3 separate regions of the Homo sapiens genome follow, and regions 2 and 3 are each linked to region 1. The links are contacts of gene promoters, found by promoter capture Hi-C in blood cells and fetal thymus (Javierre and others, 2016). All regions are on one chromosome and are shown on one strand. The core of a region is centred on a gene start or on the middle of the fragment in contact, and the rest is flanking DNA. Distances in the headings are between cores, read along the strand shown. Region 1 holds the start of PIGA (phosphatidylinositol glycan anchor biosynthesis class A). Region 2 overlaps ZRSR2 (zinc finger CCCH-type, RNA binding motif and serine/arginine rich 2). Region 3 holds the start of ZRSR2 (zinc finger CCCH-type, RNA binding motif and serine/arginine rich 2).

What was found. Contacts are between HindIII fragments. The CHiCAGO score rates a contact against its expected background, and 5 or more counts as called.
Region 2: a contact is called between a fragment that was not itself captured here and the fragment with the promoter of PIGA in region 1, in 1 of 17 cell types (naive CD8 T cells). The highest score is 5.2, in naive CD8 T cells.
Region 3: the fragment with the promoter of ZRSR2 here is called in contact with the fragment with the promoter of PIGA in region 1 in 7 of 17 cell types (fetal thymus, total CD8 T cells, naive CD4 T cells and 4 more); the score reaches 8.6 in fetal thymus.

Annotation. Positions count from the first base shown.
Region 1 is chrX:15,334,262-15,336,780 of GRCh38, forward strand. It overlaps PIGA (phosphatidylinositol glycan anchor biosynthesis class A), which reads right to left and starts at 1,262. Exons shown (of 6, transcript NM_002641.4): 1 at 1,240-1,262. RefSeq lists enhancers at 1,014-1,063, 1,114-1,193. The HindIII fragment of the contact is 3,001 bases long and covers 1-2,519 here.
Region 2 is chrX:15,806,899-15,809,417 of GRCh38, forward strand. It overlaps ZRSR2 (zinc finger CCCH-type, RNA binding motif and serine/arginine rich 2), which reads left to right. Exons shown (of 11, transcript NM_005089.4): 6 at 1,335-1,373; 7 at 2,302-2,420. Among named protein-coding and RNA genes, the nearest start is that of ZRSR2, 18 kb to the left of the region's middle. The HindIII fragment of the contact is 155 bases long and covers 1,182-1,336 here.
Region 3 is chrX:15,789,224-15,791,742 of GRCh38, forward strand. It overlaps ZRSR2 (zinc finger CCCH-type, RNA binding motif and serine/arginine rich 2), which reads left to right and starts at 1,261. Exons shown (of 11, transcript NM_005089.4): 1 at 1,261-1,313; 2 at 1,711-1,790. The coding sequence starts at 1,273. RefSeq lists enhancers at 1,139-1,588, 2,247-2,519. The HindIII fragment of the contact is 2,263 bases long and covers 1-2,047 here.

The DNA.
Region 1 (2,519 bases), core at 12-2,511:
CTCACTGCAGCCTCTGCCTCCCGAGTTCAAGCGATTCTCCCACTTCAGCCTCCTGAATAGCTGGAATTACAGGCGCACACCACAAGCCCAGCTAATTTTTGTATTTTTAGTAGAGACGGGGTTTCATCATGTTGGCCAGGCTGGTCTCGAACCCCTGACCTCAGGTGATCCACCAGCCTCGGCCTCCCAAAGTGCTGGGATTACAGGTGTGAGCCACCGTGCCCGGCCTCATCTACATTTTAAATATACTCTCGGAAAGACCCCAGAAGTGTTTGTTGACTGAGTTTACTAATTAAGATTCAATATTACCAAATATTGAAATTCCCCAAGTTTGTACTTTTAGGTGGCTTAACTAACATTTTCTTACTGTGGTCACCTAAACCCGAACTTCCAGTTCTACCAGTTTTAAAAGATGAACGATAGCAAAAACAGTGAGTAATGAACCAAATGATATCATTTAAAATGTTGTCATTAGCCTGCAACGTTCTGTGAGGAGTCTGCCCACTTCCGCCAGGTTTTCAGTCCAAACATCTTTGACATAAAAGTTCATTATGCTGCACAATCGCAGAATCTTAGCTCTTAAAGCCGAAATGAGGCTTGGAGCTCTAGTGAATACCTCTCTCGTTTTACAAATGAGAACCCAGACAAGTTGAGTGATTTGTCCAAGGTTCCCACCCAGCCACTTAAAGTGGCAAAGACATTACCGTAAAATTCTCGACCACGACCAACGAGCCCTGGGCAATCATTAGCAGTAGAGGTTCCTGAAGAACCTTAGGGAGACCTGGCAGGAGTTGTGGGTCAAGAGAATGGTACTTCCACCGACAATTCCTGGGCACTGTCTGAGCTTCATTCCCTGATTCCCTGAGAGGTCGCTGGGGAAACGCTCGGGCCAAGGAGGGGATACCCCTGCTCAGACAGCGACCCCGCTGGGTTCATGGCGGGGATGGCCAGGCCCAAAGAGAGAAAGAAAACAACCAAAGAGTGGACGTTGGTCTCAGGCCCGGGGTTCCGGAGACCCCAGTCCCTCGACCCACCCGCCTGAGCCAAGGAACCCAGCGCGTCCGCCCTAAACGCACCCTCAGCCCCAACCTACTCTGGAGACCCTCCGACCCAACTTCCGGGCTTCGAACCGGGTCGGTTTCACCCCCTCCACCACCCGCCACGATCCCACGCGCGCAGAACAGCCCCATCCGAAAGCGGCCCAGAGCGCTGGAGAGGGGCGGCGCGACGCGCACTCACCGGTGAGTTCCATGGCCGCCAGTGTCCGGACCTCCCGCGGCTGCAGCCGGAGTCCCTCCCTGCTGTTCCGCAGCACCAATCTAGGGCGTCCGCGCCCAAGGGCCGCGCCCCCGAGGCAGCCAATCACAAAGAGGCGCTGAGGTCACGTCCGAGAGAGACGCTCTGTCGTCCCCACCCTTAAGCGCGAGATGTAACGTCAGCGCGCGCCTGCGCCCGTCTCCTAGAAGCGGCCGACGGTAGGGTGGGTGCTCACCCTGGTTTCCTGGTTACAGCGTCTCTATTCCGGACGCCAGTTCTCTGCGCGCTTGCTTCTGATTGGAGAGACTTTTTGTTTGTAATCAGCTGTGCCACGGCAAAACCGTGCCGGTTCTTACCGCTCTGGGACGTTTGCCAGATAAATAAATAAAAATACACAAAAAGTCAAAACAGATGAAACTATGAAGTTTTAATTTCAGATAAAGCACAAATGATGTTTAATACAAGCATGTACCAAATATTGGGGACTTCACTACACATTCGTTTTTTATCGGACATGTAAATTTAACTAGACATCCTGTTATTTATATGGCAATTCTACACTCTGAGGGAAACATACGAGGTCTGATCTGAAATATCAACTCCCACTCGACTGGTTCAACTAGTTACGATGGTGCTTGACTAGGAAGCTAAAGAATCAGTGAGAGTGGTATGACGGTCATCCATGCGTCACAGCTGGTACTTGGAATCCCCCATCCCTGCCATACGTGCGTTTTCGAGAAGAAATTCCTTTCTGAGTACCATCACAGCCACCGTTACTGGCACCCATTTTATTAAGCCTAGTGTAAGCCTATTCATCCCTGAAAATGTCTGCTCCTTTCTGATGCTTTCCCCAAGCCTCCAGAGAATGAAATACTCTCACTTTTTAATTTTAATAGTACTTTGGCCACATGCTGGCCAAAGTATAACATTTATCAGATGATATTCAAGTTGTTTGCCTGATTGCATTCTCCCTCCTCACCCTGATCCTTGATTACTTGTCTCTTGAGATCTCACATGGACTTCTTTCTGAAAACGGAAATTGTATTTGCTTGTTAAATGTCTGCCTTCCCTGCCAGATAGTAAACTGAGGCAGGATCTGTTCTTGGTAATGGATGTTGAGGAAGTTTTAGTTTAATACATGAATTTCTTTACCCAATGTCAGCACACTCCCTGACACATATTAGATGCTCACAATAAAATGTATTGACAGTATTTCGTGGAGTGTACCTTATACAAATTACAGTGCAATAACATCATTGAAA
Region 2 (2,519 bases), core at 9-2,508, 470 kb after region 1:
GAATTCAAGTCATATTTTTAGGTTTTTAGTTTGAATAGACAGATAGACTGGCAACACTATTCACTGAGGGAGCATTCAGGTGGATGTGGGCCAGGGAGTGTAGAGGACAAGAGTTCTGTTTTGAGCACCACAAATAAGCAACTAGACATACGAGTCTTATGTAATGCTTTAAGGGGCTAGGGAAGATAAGACTGTCTGTTAAACATAGGTACAACTTGTTCAAATGCCAATTAGGTAGAAATTTACTGGCATATTGCAGAACCTCCTTTGCCTTATTAAAAAGTTAGAATTTTCTCCTAAATGCTAATTACCACTGGTCATGTCATATTTTAGCTTCTGCTAAATGTTTATGATTTCATCTAGCATTGTTTTTTGGGTTTTTTCGTTTGTTTGTTTGTTCGTTTTTTTTTAGACAGAGTCTTGCTCTGTCGCCTAGGCTGGAGTGCAGTGGCGTCATCTCGGCTCACTGCAACCTCTGCCTCCTGGGTTCAAGCGATTCTCCTGTCTCAGCCTCCCAAGTAGCTGGGATTACAGGCACGTGCCACCACACCTGGCTAATTTTTGTATTTTTAGTAGTGACGGGGTTTCACCGTCTTGGCCAGGCTGGTCTAGAACTCCTGACCTCAAGTGATCCACCCGCCTCAGCCTCCCAAAGTGCTAGGATTATAGGTGTGAGCCACCATGCCCGGCCTAGCATTGTGTTTTATATTCACTAATACCCCCTTTTACGAACTAGGACATGGTATATATACTCAAATATACTAAGTATTACTATTATTGAAACTATTATAAGACTATTTTAAATATTTTGCAATGTGATCTGGTAAATTTTCTATTTGAATAGAACGTCTCAGCTATGGGCCGGGCACGGTAGCTCATGCCTGTAATCCCAGCACTTTGGGAGGCTGAGGCGGGTGGATTGCTTGAGCTCAGGAGTTCGAGACTAGCCTGGGCAACATGGTGAAACTCCGTCTCTACAGAAAATACAAAAGTTATCCAGGCGTGGTGGTGTGCGCCTGTAGTCCTAGCTACTCGGAAGGCTGAGGTGGGAGGATCACTTGAGCCTGGGAGGCGGAGGTTGCAGTGAGCTGAGGTCACGCCACTGCACTCCAGCCTGGGTGACAGAGTGAGACCCTGTCTCAAAAAAAAAAGAGAAAAGTCTCAGCTATATATCCTTTGAAAGCTTTTCAAAAGATCTGTGATTCAAAAGAAAACTAGAACTTGTGTGCGTGTGTGTGTTTTAATTGTTCCACTTGAGATTCTTAACCAGAGAAACCAGATGTGACTTACCTGACTTCTGGGTTTTTATTAGTCCTGTGTTTGCACCATTTTAGGAAGCTTTGCAGAAGATGCTGGATCAGGCTGAAAATGAGGTATTTTTAAAACCTTACATTGATAATTTGAGACCAATTAATGTTTCCTTAGAAATAATAGTTCCAGTAATGTTAGTTTCGTGGTAGGTTAGTTAGATCATGTTTGGATATCTGGACTCATGTTTATGATGCTTTGATTTATACAACAACAACAAACTTTATTGATGAACAAATACAAATGGTATTCATGACCCCTGTGGACTGGACCTGTTTAGAGTCCTTACAGTATGTTTAAGCAACATCACATACCGTTAGCCTCCAGTGGACGGTTTACCTTGAATCAGAGTAACTTCTATTTCTGTCTGTGGTGGTTCCCTAATAAGTTCTTGGACCCTTTTTTTTCTCTTTTTTTCTTTTTTTTTTTTTTGAGACGGAGTTTTGCTCTTGTTGCCCAGGCTGGAGTACAGTGGTATGATCTCGGCTCACTGCAACCTCCGCCTCCCGGGTTCAAGCAACTCTCCTGCCCCAGCCTCCCAAGTAGCTGGGATTATAGGTGTGCACCACCACGCCCAGCTAATTTTATATTTTTAGTAGAGATGGGGTTTCTCCATGTTGGTCAGGCTGGTCTTGAACTCCTGATCTCAGGTGATCCACCCACCTCGGCCTCCCAAAGTGCTGGGATTACAGGCGTGAGCCACTGCACCCGGCCTTCTTGGACCCTTTTTAGAATGGATGGAAACCTTGGCGACTGCCCCTGGTGGCAGTAGTGATACCAGATAAAGGAAAGTGACCAGGAGCCAAGAGAGACATGGAGCTCATGTCTCAGTACCGTTGTTTGTAAAGTCTTGATTGCCTGTTCCAACTTAAATGTTTGCATTATTAAATGAAACAATGTTTATCTTTGAGGAAAATATTTTAATATACTTTGAAACATTTCGTCTTTCATGGGTTTTTACTCCACCAGTAAAGTCATGGTTATTTTCAACAGTTGGAAAATGGTACCACATGGCAAAACCCAGAACCACCCGTGGATTTCAGAGTAATGGAGAAGGATCGAGCTAATTGTCCCTTCTACAGTAAAACAGGAGCTTGCAGATTTGGAGATAGGTAACTAATTTTGTTTTATCATGTCAGAATGAAGTGATTCAAAATGCTGACGTTTTTGAGTTCCCCTTTTGGGAGAGGCGCATGTTTCCATTTCAAATG
Region 3 (2,519 bases), core at 11-2,510, 450 kb after region 1:
CCGCCACCTCCTGGGTTCAAGCAGTTCTCCTGTTTCAGCCTCCAGAGTAGCTGGGACTACAGGCATGTGCCACCACACCCGGCTAATTTTGTATTTTTAGTAGAGACGGGGTTTCACCATGTTGGCCAGGCTGACGAACTCCTGACCTCAGGTGATCCACCCGCCTAGGCCTCCCAAAGTGCTGGGATTACAGGCGTGAGCCGCTGCACCCAGCCTCGAACTGCACTTTAAATTGGATAGCTGGGCGGGCGTGGTGGCTCGCGCCTGTATTCCCAGCTACTCGGGAGGCTGAGGTGGAAGGATTGCTTGACCCCAGGAGGTCGAAGCTGCAGCGAGTCGTGATTGCGCCACTGCACTCCAACCTGGGTGAAAGACAAGACCCTGTCTCTAATATATAAGAAATGAATAAATAAATAAATTCGATTGCCAAAATTCTTGCTGTTCCCAGCATATTCCACTTTCACCTTTCAGCGCCTTTGCTTATGCTGATCTGACTGTAACTGCATTCCCACCCTTCTCCTTCTGGGTAAAGGGCATCTTCTTTCCAAACTCAACTCTTAGCATCAGAAAGCTGTCCCTGATACTGCAGTTGAGTCGCATGTGATACTGAAAAAAAAAGAAAAAAGGAAAAAAAAGAGAGCTCTCCCTGAATCCCTTGGTGGACTATGTTAGGTAAACTTCATCTTTGCCTGCATCATATTATGTATTGGTTCTTCTCTGCCCCCTCGATTGTAAACTCCTCAGGGGCAGAGGTAACAGCTTTGCAGCCCTGGGAGTTAGGTTTGCTTAAGGGACCAGAACAGGTGTGACTGGCAGGGAGCGAAGTCTGGAGCTTTGTCTGAGGCGCTGATAGGTGGATCGGCGGAAGGACGCGGAACCTGGACAGGTCGGAAATAAAGCCGGGCGAGCAGCTCTGTGCGCGATGTGACTTCATGAGTGGATGCTGAGAAAAGCGGCAGAGTACGACTTTAACCGCCTAGCCACAACACGTCCTGCTAGGGCGAGGAGGGAGACAGTGATACAGCACTGGGCAAGTGCTGAAGCGACAATTACTTCTAGGGCGGGGTAAAAGCCCCAGAGTATTTTTGCTGGAAGGAGGTATTTATTTGAGCAGGGTTCTGGAAGACGAGCCGCCGAAGGGTACCTCCGGCTTTCCGTTTCAAGTCCCACGCTGGTGGAGGTTGCTCGGTACCCGCGCCTGCGCGTGCCCGTCTCGACTCTTAGGCCCGCCCTTTCCTGCCAGACCTGGAGGGGCGGGGCGGTGCCGGCAAGATGGCTGCGCCCGAGAAGATGACGTTTCCCGAGAAACCAAGGTAAGCGCCGTACGGGGAGATGAGCAGGCGAGCGGGCCGATCGTGGGCATGGAGGATGTGGTGGCAGGAAGAAAAGAGAAGCTGGGCCAAGCTAAGTGAGCCACCGCGGCAGCTCCATTCCTTCCTGGTGCGCGCTCTGGTGCCCTCCCCGGACTTGCACGGGCGGCTGTGGCTCAGGCAAGCGAGGAGAGGATCAGGTTGGCGGATGGAGAAGAACTGTCTGGGAGTGGGAGGATGAGGCGATGATAGATGGCTGTTCTGTAATTAAAATACAGGAAGCAAGGTTTCTCTCCTCAGCACCCGAACTATTTCCTTTCATTGGGCACAGAGGAGCGGGGAGCTCGGGCAGCGCTGCATTGTAGCCGCTGATCGTCGTGTATATGTCTTAATCTTCCAGCCACAAAAAGTACAGGGCCGCCCTGAAGAAGGAGAAACGAAAGAAACGTCGGCAGGAACTTGCTCGACTGAGAGACTCAGGTGATGGACTCTTTATTCTGTTTTCTGTGTTGTGAAATTGCTCTGTCCACTCCAGCCCTAACTTGAAGCCCCAGTGTCAGAAGGAAGTCAAATATTGTGTCGGAGGAAAAATAGCTGTGACTTCTGCCCCCAAGTAGTTATTTAGAAACACATGTCAGAAACAATGTTAACATACTAAAGGCAGGAAGAGGAAGTCTTGGTGAATGATCGCCCACTGATTCTGTGTAACTTATAAAGTATCTAATATTACAGTTGCAAGCTTCATGAATTACAGCAGCTAGCACAGTCCTTGCACACGTAGTAAGTATTCGGTGAATGTTTTTCTTCGTAAAACCAGCAGGAGTTGAAGGTATTAATTAGACGTTTTGCAAGTTTTTCTCAAACTTGACTAATATGAGACCCTTGGTTTACCCAAATTATTATGTTATTCAAATATATATCAACATAATACTAGTTATGAAGCTCATTTATTTATTTTTGAGACAGGGTCTTGTTCTGTTGCCCAGGAGGGATGTGCACAACCACGGCTCACAGCAGCCTCCACCTCCCAGGCTCAAGCAGTCCTCCCACCTCAGCCTCCCTAGTAGCTGGGACTACAGGCATTCACCACCACACCTGGCTAATTTTTTCTTTTCTTTTCTTTTTTTTTTTTTTTTTTTTTGAGACGGAGTCTCGCTCTGTTGCCCAGGCTGGAGTGCAGTGGCACGATCTTGGCTCACTGCAGCCTCC